Regions from separate parts of the Homo sapiens genome. Here region 2 is linked to region 1. The links are contacts of gene promoters, found by promoter capture Hi-C in blood cells and fetal thymus (Javierre and others, 2016). All regions are on one chromosome and are shown on one strand. Each heading gives the region's core, a stretch centred on a gene start or on the middle of the fragment in contact. The rest is flanking DNA. Distances are from core to core; before and after follow the strand shown.

Region 1 (5,879 bases), core at 1,368-3,867:
AGCAGGTCAACTGTATAATTACCAAACTCAATTTCATCAGGAATTTCATCAACATCAGAGCCCCTGGGCCACCAGTCTTCAATGTTTGCTACCAGTGTGTTACTGTCTGCTTGTCATTATCTAGAGACAAAAATGGAACATTACAATGGGCTTTATGACCCTTCTGTACCTCAGCATTTCCATCCTGCCCCCTTCACCTAGCTGTACCTCATTATCTATCCCAGTGCCTGGCCTGTGATATCCCTAGAAATTATTATTGCACTAAACTAAATTAAACACAAAGACTTAGTTAGCGGATTCACAATTTTTAGTTGTACTACATAGTCAAACGAGTAGACGTTCAGGTCACAAAATCTAGCCTGTCTCCCCATGAAACCACAATGCCATTGTCTGAACAGATTAAATAAAGCAGAGCATCACCTCAAACGATTTTCATGGTTCAAATCTAGGTAGCTATACTTACCAGCTGTGAGGCTTAGGCCAACCTATTAACCTTCTATTTCACTTTTCTGCTAAATGAGACAATATGGACTTGACTTCATTTTGTGAGAAATAAATAATCTAAGTAACTGGTCAAACACATTTTGTGCTTCTTAAAAAAAGGTGGTACACACACACACACACACACACAACACCCGATATAATACAATATTTTCAAATGACACTAGAAATATTTTAGTCAGGTCTAAAGGAACAGAAGTTAATGATAAAATGATAAACAATAAATAATAGCTACTGTTTCATGAGAAAATTACACACATCTTACTTGACTTAAACCTCACAACAGAATTGAGCAGAAAGTTATTACCCTGAGAAAGGGGACTTAAGGTTGGCAGGATAACAAGTGGGAGAATCTAGAGGTAAAGTCATATCTATCTTATTGGAAACACTCAAGAACGTCAAATAAGCATGAGAATTTGAGCAAGACTGAAGGAGAACGTTTAAGTTCCCTTTCCAACTCATATCCCAATTCTGGAATCTAATTTCTGTAACAAGTAACTATATTCCTTACTACAGAAGTAAAGATGGCCCCATGGAGAAACTGGCAGCATGGCATGATGGAAATGGAATAGAATCAGGAATTGTTTTGTACCTGTGTGTGTGTGACTTTGGTGTTCTGACTCAGACACATATTTGAGAGGTAGAGAGGGGAGAAGAGGGTTGCCACATTATGTAACAGAAAGGAGCCCACTGCTTAAACACTTACCTTGTGCCAGACATTGCACTAGGACTTTATTACCTGCAACCCATCCTGCAAAACTGTGAAGATTTGATATGATCATTCTCATTTTATGGTTGAGAAACAAGGGTTAAGGACATTAAAAATTTACTCAATGTTTAAACATTTGCCTGTCTTATTCTAAAGCCCCTTCTCTTTTCACAATCCCTTTAAGAAATGGACATCCAATATTTGAGTGGCAGAGGCAAAAACATGGCCTACCAGAACCATTATGATAGCTTTACAATATGCCCACCAATTATTTGATAGTCCTCCTGCCAAATGGTGAAGGCTAATTACCCTCCTACAGAATGTGACTCACTTCTAATGAATAAAATATGGCACAAGTAAAAGTGTGCGATTTCAGAGACTAGGTCATAAAGAACGCAGTGGCTTCTTCCCTGCTCTCTCTTTCTTAGGTCATTCTCTCTGGGTGAATCCAGCTGACATGTTGTGAGGACACTCAAGCAGCTTTATGGAAAAGCCCACATGGTGAGCAACTGAGGCCTCCTACCAACAGCCAACAAGAAACCGGGGCCTTTGCCAACAGCCAAGTAAGTGAGACATTTTGGAAAGTGGATCCTCCAGCCCCCGTTAGGCTCCCAGATGACAACATCCCCTGCTCTCATCTTGACCACAACCTCATGAAATACCCTTATCCAGGATACCCAGTTAAGCCACACCACAATTGCTATTTTACAAAACTGTGAGCTATGTGTTAGTTGTTTTTAAGCTATTAAGTTTTGAGGTGATCTATTACACAATGATAAACAACTAATACACCCATCCAGTGCTGAAGAAAGGGGTTGTCAGGAGGGTAGAATTTGCACTATTAAATCTTCATAGAGTGCTATTTCCCGTCACTACAGCACACTTGTCACCAACTATAAAGAATTAGGTCAGGGAATTTCTTTGGTTGCAGCCCATTTTGCCTTTGGTTGTTAATGGTAGAACCGTTTCCCCACAATCTGCAGGAAATAAGAATCAGAAAGAAGGACACACCATTCCATAGCACAGAACACAAGTAGATGGCTCCCATGAAGAATCTAGCATCATGGTATGGCAGAAGCAGAATGGACTCAGGAATCATGGTGCCTACACTGGAATTTCAGATCGGCCACTGACACAATGGACACATTATTCAACATTTCCAAATCTTGGCATTCTTATCCACAAAGTGAAGATAATAATTGTCAATTCACAGGTGATTATGATTTAAAGAGATTACTTTTGAAGAGTTCCTAACACATTCAGTCAACATTTAATGATGCTTCAGGCACTGTGTTCATTGCTAGTGAGCGTATGACACACACAGCCATACGGTCACAGAGCTTTCAATGAAAAGTAACATAATTGCTCATTTCACCAGGCCCCCGGCTTGGGGCGCCTTCCTTCCCCATGGCGGGACACCTGGCTTCGGATTTCGCCTTCTCGCCCCCTCCAGGCGGTGGGGGTGATGGGCCATGGGGGGCGGAGCCGGGCTGGGTTGATCCTCTGACCTGGCTAAGCTTCCAAGGCCCTCCTGGAGGGCCAGGAATCGGGCCGGGGGTTGGGCCAGGCTCTGAGGTGTGGGGGATTCCCCCTTGCCCCCCGCCGTATGAGTTATGTGGGGGGATGGCGTACTGTGGGCCTCAGGTTGGAGTGGGGCTAGTGCCCCAAGGCGGCTTGGAGACCTCTCAGCCTGAGAGCGAAGCAGGAGTCGGGGTGGAGAGCAACTCCAATGGGGCCTCCCCGGAACCCTGCACCGTCCCCCCTGGTGCCGTGAAGCTGGAGAAGGAGAAGCTAGAGCAAAACCCGGAGAAGTCCCAGGACATCAAAGCTCTGCAGAAAGAACTCGAGCAATTTGCCAAGCTCCTGAAGCAGAAGAGGATCACCCTGGGATATACACAGGCCGATGTGGGGCTCATCCTGGGGGTTCTATTTGGGAAGGTGTTCAGCCAAAAGACCATCTGCCGCTTTGAGGCTCTGCAGCTTAGCTTCAAGAACATGTGTAAGCTGCGGCCCTTGCTGCAGAAGTGGGTGGAGGAAGCTGACAACAATGAAAATCTTCAGGAGATATGCAAAGCAGAAACCCTCATGCAGGCCCGAAAGAGAAAGCGAACCAGTATCGAGAACCGAGTGAGAGGCAACCTGGAGAATTTGTTCCTGCAGTGCCCGAAACCCACACTGCAGATCAGCCACATCGCCCAGCAGCTTGGGCTCGAGAAGGATGTGGTCCGAGTGTGGTTCTGTAACCGGCGCCAGAAGGGCAAGCGATCAAGCAGCGACTATGCACAACGAGAGGATTTTGAGGCTGCTGGGTCTCCTTTCTCAGGGGGACCAGTGTCCTTTCCTCCGGCCCCAGGGCCCCATTTTGGTACCCCAGGCTATGGGAGCCCTCACTTCACTGCACTGTACTCCTCAGTCCCTTTCCCTGAGGGGGAAGTCTTTCCCCCAGTCTCCGTCATCACTCTGGGCTCTCCCATGCATTCAAACTGAGGTGCCTGCCCTTCTAGGAATGGGGAACAGGGGAGGGGAGGAGCTAGGGAAAGAGAACCTGGAGTTTGTGGCAGGGCTTTTGGGATTAAGTTCTTCATTCACTAAGGAAGGAATTGGGAACACTAAGGGTGGGGGCAGGGGAGTTTGGGGCAACTGGTTGGAGGGAAGGTGAAGTTCAATGATGCTCTTGATTTTAATCCCACATCATGTATCACTTTTTTCTTAAATAAAGAAGCCTGGGACACAGTAAAAAAAAAAAAAAAAGAAAGAAAAGAAAAGTAACATAATTGAGTAATAATTTTTTAAGTGTGGTAAAATGTGTGGCACGTAGTAGGTATTCAATAAATACTTGCTTTTTTCCTCCTTTTTACCTTTTCCTAGAGTGCTACTTGATGGTAGCTGTAGTTTTTCTTCAAGACATCCTATTTGTCCTGATACAAAACCTCTTTTGACCGCTAACGGCATAGTTCGGCCCTCACCATTCCCTCACATATTCCACAAAAATGTGAGCATTAACCATTCCCCATGATACAGATAATTCATTTTTTAATTTAATTTTTTAAAATTTTATTTATTTACTTATTTATTTTGAGACCAGGTTATGAGACTGGCTAATTTTTGTATTTTTGGTGGAGATGGGGTTTTGCCATATTGTCTAGGCTGGTCTCAAACTCCTGAGCTCAAGGGATCCTCCTGCCTGGGCCTCCCAAAGTACTGGGATTACAGGCATGAGCCATTGCACCTGGCCCGGATAATTTTTTTTCTTTTTTTGAGGTAGTGCCTTCCTTTATAGCTCAGGCTGGAGTGCAGTGGTGTGATCTCGGCTCACTGCAACCTCTGCCTCCCAGGTTCAAGTAATTCTCCTGCCTCAACCTCCTGAGTAGCTGGGATTACAGGCGCCCACTACCACGCCCGGCTAATTTTTGTATTTTTAGTAGAGATGGGGTTTCACCATGTTGGCCAGGCTGGTCTCGAACTCTTGACCTCAGGTGATCTGCCTGCCTTGGCCTCCCAAAGTATTGGGATTGTAGGCGTGAACCACCACGCCCGGCCCTGAAAATTCATTTTTAAAAGAACATCATATCTACCTTAAATGCATTAAGATTTCACATTAGACTCATTATTCATAGTGAACATTAGGAACTTAAGTCCACTCAGTAATAATGCACCTATTCATGACTCTTGATTCAAAGATGTGCACCTATTTACCCTGGACCAGCTCCTTGGAAGGACATGAAATAGAGGGTAATAATCACATCTTTCCAAATTTGCTATGAAACTGCATCGCCAAAAACTGAGACTCATTTTCCGATTGATGAATCAAATGACAACAAAATCTCCAGGGCATTCTGAAACCCAACAGGGATTAATGATTAGGCATACCAGTGGTAGTTAGGAGACTTGCCCAAATTTCCAGTTTTCTGCAGATGGCATCTAAGTTAGAAGACTGTCATAAATTTATTCATGGCTTGGCTTTCTGCTATTTGCTCATTGGTGACACTTTTATATACAATGGTGTTTCTATGGCTAGGAAATCCCAGTGGAGATCAAGAAACCTGGGTTCTACAAACTAATGGGGTGACCTTTGATTAGTCCTAACTCCCTTCCTAAGCCTCAGTTTCTTTAGACATGAAATGAAAGCAATGGATTACATTGCCTTAGACTTTTTCCTAGATCGAAAATGTGATAATTGTGCCTTTCCAACAATAATTGATACCACTAGTGAACATTCTTTCTTAAGCACATCTATTAAGGACTTCATTTATATTATTTTTCTAATCTTTAAGCAAACTCTGAGATAAGTGACTATGATGTTTATTCCATAGGTGCAAAAGATTTGTCAAGTAACTCTCCAAAGTAAAAGAGAGGGCTGGAGTTTAGACTCATGACTGTTCTGCTCTAACCCAAGTGATTCTGGATCCCAGACTCCCCAAATGACAAGTTATTCCAGAAATACTCAGAAAAAGGAGGGTGCCGTATGTCGCACATGGAAAAATAGAAAAAGTAACAGAATCCAGCCAAAGGATTCCCAGAAATTGAGGCTCTTCTGTTCTTGGCATTTGCATCTTTGGATGTGTGTTTTTTACATTGCTCTATGCAAAAGGTATGTTTCAATGTGATTTTTTTTTTCTCCTCCCATCCTACCACTGAGGAATCACAGGGAATAGACTCGACACCTGTG
Region 2 (5,879 bases), core at 1,994-4,493, 2.3 Mb after region 1:
GTCACAGAGTGGTGCGGCCTGTCACATGAAAGTCACTTCCAGCTTGGAACGGATTGCACATTCCTGCCTTCTGAGTGGTGTTTCAGATGACTGGGATCTGGCCTGTCTGCAGACAGGCCCCAAAGCAGCAGAAGGAAGCCAGCGGGCAGGGGCATTCCAACACCGTTCCCGAGACCCGCAGTCACAGGAAAGGAGAACTTCCTGAGGCTCCTCCAAGCCTTGCCTCAACTTAATGGTGTTTGAGAAAAACATCAAGTTTCCATTTACCTCCATTTTGAAACACTGAAAGCATTTGTCATTAAATAGCATGATGACTCTCCTGCCTCAACTCAGAGCTTTGTCAAACTGCTCACATGGCATAAACAAGGATGATGGGGTTTCCTACACATATATCAGAACTTCTAAATGCTTCTTATATGCCAAGTACCATTATATACCATGCCTTGGCTCATCTAATCCTTACAGACAACCTCAGGAGAGAGGTGCTCTATATCACTACCACAGCCAAGGAACCTGGGGCTCAGGATGGTTAAGTAACTTGTACAAGGTCAAAAATTGGCAAATGACAATGCACGAACTTAACACAGATCTGTCTGACTCCAAATCCCAGGTCTACACTGGCTGGATAAATATGAGGCAGAGGCCACATGTAGTAGCTCACGCCTGTAATCCCAGCACCTTGGAAGGCCGAGGCGAGTGGCTAACCTGAGGTCAGGAGTTCAAGACTAGCTTGGCCAACATGGTGAAACCCCGTCTCTACTAAAAATACAAAAACTAGCTGAACGTGGTGGTGCATGCCTGTAATCCCAGCTACTTGGGAGACTGAGACAGGAGAATTGCTTGAACCCGGGAGGCGGAGGTTGCAGTGAGCCAAGATCGCACCATTGCACTCCAGCCTGGGCGACAAAAGCGAAACTCCATCTCAGTAAAAAAATAGGTATATATGAGGCAGAATGACTTTCAAATAATACACAATGGTTTCAGAATCTGGCCTCTGTTTTGTTGATTGCAAGGCCCTGTCATATTTCCAAGTCACCTATTGCTGGGTTTCACAGCTTTAATGGTTTGAAAAGTCTTCCTTATGTCAAAATGTTTCAACAGGCTTCGTTCCCGCCCTCTGCACCCCACAGTCCTCTTCCTTCCCAAACTCTCCTCTGAGAAGTCTGTCTCATCCCCCATTCCCATGAAATACATCTGCTGACATCACAAAGGGATTCTTGTCTAACTTCCATCTCTCTAATTGAAGTTTAAGCAAAATGTTTCTTGACCTAATCCAAGTAAAAGAGCATGATTGTCCTCTATTTCATGTTATTCTCACAGTTACAATATGTGCTTACATCTGCTGGTGCAAAATATGATTAACTTTTTTTTTCTAAAACCCTAGGGCTAGGAGGAGCTTGGAAATTCTATCTTTTACTTCCCCTTGCCTTCAGACCGATCCCTGTATGTCAACAAAACATGAAAACACCCTGTGAAATCCATTAGTAGCCTCACTTTATATACTAGGAAATCGAGGCAGGGTGATGGATCTGAAGTCCCTCAAGCAGATTGTGGCTAGAGCAAGAAGGGAAGCATGGACCTGGGTCTCTCAGAGGAATCCCTGTCTTCCCATACAGCCTTTTTCCATAGCATCTATGCACTAACTATAAGCTATCGACCCTATAAAGGTCCACGGACATATGAGAACATTATCTTCTTCCAGGCATTCAGTTTCATTTATCCGACATTTCCTGCACTATCCTAAAGATATAGAGGCAGGTAGATTAATTCACTATGCCCTAGAAGTCCTGGTCAAGGTCTCAGAATCAAGAACTACCTCTCTAACAGACAGGCATTGAGCACCCTCTGTAGGCAAGGCAGAGTCTTGCAAGCTGGCACCAATGATTGTCCTGCATCTGCCTGGTCCACATACTCCCTGGACGTCTGTGTGACAGGCTCTGTAGAAGACAAGCATAAAGCAGACCTGAGGGTGAGTCCCAGCCCAGCTCTGCCACTCACCAGCGGTGTGGCCATGGGCAGGTTACCTCCATGGACTAGACCTGGGCTTTCTCATCTTTAAGTTGGTGTTAATAACAAGTTGGGGTTAAATGCTGTCCCTCACTCAATACCTGTGTCCACATCTTAATCCTTAGGACCTCTGAACGTGACCATATTTGATAAAAAGGTCTTGGCAGATGTAATTATGTAAAGGTTCTTGAGATGAGATCATCCTATATTATCTAGGTTGTCTCTAAATCCAGTGACAAATGTCCTTATGACCGCAGAAAGACAGACACCAGGAGAAGAAGAAAAGTCCACGCAAAGAAAGATGAAGGTAGAGGTAGGAGTTATCCAGCCACAAGCCACAGAATGCCTGGAACCTCCCTAAGCTGAAAGAGGCTAAGACAAAGTCCCCTCTAGAGCCATCAGAGTGAGTGTGGCCCTGCCAGCACCTTGAGTTTGTACTCTGGCCTCCAGGACTCTAAGCAAAAAAATTTCTGGGGGATTTTTTAAGCCATGAAGCTTTGTGGTCATTTGTTAAAACAGCCCTAGGAAACTAGTATCCACCTATTTCATGGTATGTTAAGCATGGAACCTATTCCAGAGTAAGTACTTCATCATATTATTGGTGTTATTCTTGCCCTTGCCATGCTCCAAGTTAACTTAAGACCCCTTTTATTCTGACGATACCTCCTGGAGACCACCCACCCATCCAAAGCTCCAGAATCAAGGTTTTAGTATTTTGATTTGGGGTTGCCTATTTGTTAGGAGGAGGGGCTGCACATACCTATTTCCTATTTTTCAAAATAATAGCCCCAAATTTTGATTCAAGTGAAGCTGGATAGACCCTGAAGGGTGTATTTGTTAAAAATTTCACAGCTCATTCTGACACAAAACTGGTACTGATATTCAACCAATGCACACTGACCAGCATCCTCTCTGATTTGTCTGGGACTTGGTCCTTTGGTGAAATATTTGCCCTCTCTCCGCACACCAGCACTGCTCTCCCATCACCACTGACCTGGGGAAAATCAGCCAAGCTGACTGGTAGGCCCAGAACACAAAGCTGGGGACAAAGCTAGTCCAGAGGGCTTAAAATGTGTTGGGGAAGCCAGGTTTGCATGAACATGTCCCGGGGAACAGAACAGGCATGGCAGCATGGAATGACAGGAAGGACCTGGGCACAGGCCCCTGGTGGCCCAAACTCCTCCATACAGGACTGTTCTTTTTATCTGTTGTATCAACTGGGAATATGCATACAATTCTTTTTGGAAAAAAAAGTTCTAAAGCATTCTGATGATTTTTTAAATAATTAAAAATTTAAAACCACTGATAAGACATACTTATTTTCTAGGCAAGAAACTGGGTTCCAAAGAGATTAAGTGACATGCCCAGGATCACACAGTGAGGAACTGATGGCCAAGACCAGAATCTTGAACTCTGGGTCTTATCCAGGGCCCGTCAACTCCACCAGTAGCAGCCTCAGCCACCAGCCCCACCACTGAGGCCTCAAAGCACTGATTTCTCAGGCTCCAGTGCCTCTCTCTAGGTGCAGTAGCCCCCACATCCCTCAGAAGGTCCATGCCTGGCAGGGAAGAGGATGCCTGGGCAATGCTGTCAGCCTCTCCTTTGGGAATGGCCTTGGTCTCGGTCTGCACCAAGGCAGCCCAGTTTCTAGGCCATTGCTGCCAGAGGCGGTGTCGTTGCTTGGGAAATCTTCCTGCTGATCAGAACTTCCTCTCCACTGTACCTTTTTCCCTCCTTAGAGCCAACATCCAGGCCTTATCTCAGATGAGGAAATGTTTAGGGCACAGGACCGTTGAGATATTTCTCAGAACACAAATTACGAGGCACATGTTTTCACAGAGAAGAAAATAAGGAGAAGACACACAGTGATCACCATGCTGGTTCTGAGAACAAGCCCTTATCTGCTCTGACCCAGCTCTGGACTCACAGGCTGGTGTCAGCCTCACAACTGGTCAATGAGGCAGCCAGGAAAAGTCCAAAGCTTTAGGTGGGGGAGTCCATCGCCCAAAGGCAAAGGTGCAAAAAATAAACACTTAAGAGAGAGCTGCAGCCTCAAAGCCCTGGGCTGTACCAGGCCGACATACCACAGCAAAAAGCCTATGAAGTCCTACAAAATGTAAGCACCTCACCAAGCTGCTAGCATGGAGGGATTGCACATTAAAACTCTGGTCACGTTACAAATGTCTGTGCAGGGTCTTCCCGCCAGGAAACCCCAATGCAGTGAGGAGGATACTATGCATGTTTAAAAAACTAAGCAGTCATAAGATTACAGTAATCATTCCAAGCAGGACAAAAAGAAAGAAAAGATGAGGTGATACAAAGTACTACATGGTCAATGAATGACCAGATAAATGATGGAATCAATAATTACTAGAAGAGTTCAGAGGGAAAAGTTCAGGTAGGAAGGACTAGCTTGGCTTAATAATATCTATCATTCATTAAATACCTACTATCTGCCAGAATTTGAGAATTTTTCTTTCAATGACTTCACAAGGTCTGTGTTAAGTATCTGCACTTCACCAAGGGGAAGGCTGAAATGTGGAGAAGCCAGGTGACCTCCCACAGTAACTCAGCTGTAGGAACCAGGGTGAGTTCTGTCTCGTTCTCCTGAACAATTACCTGAGTTTCCTTAGCCATAGAGGTCCTGAGAAATTGCTTGAGTTTCCTTAGCAATAGAGGACAAGGAGAGCTTGGATAAAGCCAAAAGGAAAGAGAGGGATCATTGCAGGCAGGTGAAAGGAGCAGCTGAAATCACAGAGGCAGGAAAGTCAAAAGCACATGTGCGGCTGTTAACAGAGATGAATTTAGCTAGGGTGGAGGTTTCTGGAATGGATAGAACTTATTGAGTACTTACTGTGCTAAGCAAAGTTCTAAGAACTTTATATAGATAATCTCATTTAACCCTCACAATAACCCTGTGAGGTATGGAGTATTATTATTCCCAAAGTATGGATAAGGAAGTCAAAGCATAGAGAGGTTAAGTAACTTGCCCAAGATCACATAGCTGATAGGCAGCAGAGGTAAGACTTGAACATAGTCAGGATTGAAAGTCCATGCCCTTAATCACTACAATGTACTTGAAGGAGTTTGTCATAGAAAGCTGGAAAAGCTGGATTCCCTGAGGGGTTGCCTTGAATGCCAAGTGTTTGCACTTAATCTTTCTGCAGAAAAAAAAAGGAATTATAACGAAATACCTGTTTCTATATAAACAAAGCAAAGCAAGGGCAGAGAAGCTCTCAAGACAAAGTCCAGCCAAATAAAGGGCTGCAGCCTCCTCACCCCTTGGGGTTCTCTGCATGTTTCACTTCCACGGCAATCATGTGATCAAAGCAGAAACGTTCTTTTAGTTGTGGTGAGAAAGGTGGACTGGAAGAAGGGAAGAACAGTCGGACGCTAGCGCCAGAGGCAAAGCAGGAAGTGACGAAGGCATGCAGTACGTGGGAGCTGCAGGAAGGCTGGAACAGTGGAGGTGGATGGTAGAGCAATGGAGAAGGAAGGGTCAAAAGGCTTTGATGAACCATTAGAGAAAAGTAGTCGTTACTGGTTGTGGCTTAGGTTAACCTACCATGAACCCATTTTCTGACCCAAGAACTGGGCTGACAGGTCCCCATAAGAGTGAGGCAGAATGTCTGAAGCTATCTCTGCTCCAGAAAGCCAAGGACAGTCTGTCTTTGTGTTTGTGCCTGTCACCTTCTGCATGCTTCTGGGAAAGGAGTTCCTTTGACCAAGGAGCCCTCCTGGGGAAGGCCTGTCCAGAGACTTAGAACCAGAAGAAAGACAGGACACTAGGAGAGGCACAGATCCTCCCAGAGATCAGCCTTAAGAGCCCCCCCAGACTCTCCTATGTAGAAATCTACATGGGATTCCCCTGG

What was found. Contacts are between HindIII fragments. The CHiCAGO score rates a contact against its expected background, and 5 or more counts as called.
Region 2: a contact is called between a fragment that was not itself captured here and the fragment with the promoter of POU5F1B in region 1, in 1 of 17 cell types (M0 macrophages). The highest score is 8.1, in M0 macrophages.

The regions. Positions count from the first base shown.
Region 1 is chr8:127,413,250-127,419,128 of GRCh38, forward strand. POU5F1B (POU class 5 homeobox 1B) reads left to right here and starts at 2,618. Exons shown (of 1, transcript NM_001159542.3): 1 at 2,618-3,697. The coding sequence starts at 2,618. The coding sequence ends at 3,697. The region is part of intron 5 of CASC8 (cancer susceptibility 8); the gene reads right to left. The HindIII fragment of the contact is 3,513 bases long and covers 1-2,725 here.
Region 2 is chr8:129,685,739-129,691,617 of GRCh38, forward strand. No RefSeq gene overlaps it. Among named protein-coding and RNA genes, the nearest start is that of CCDC26, 8.4 kb to the left of the region's middle. RefSeq lists enhancers at 2,622-4,834, 5,687-5,879 and a cis regulatory region at 3,622-3,956. The HindIII fragment of the contact is 1,486 bases long and covers 2,501-3,986 here.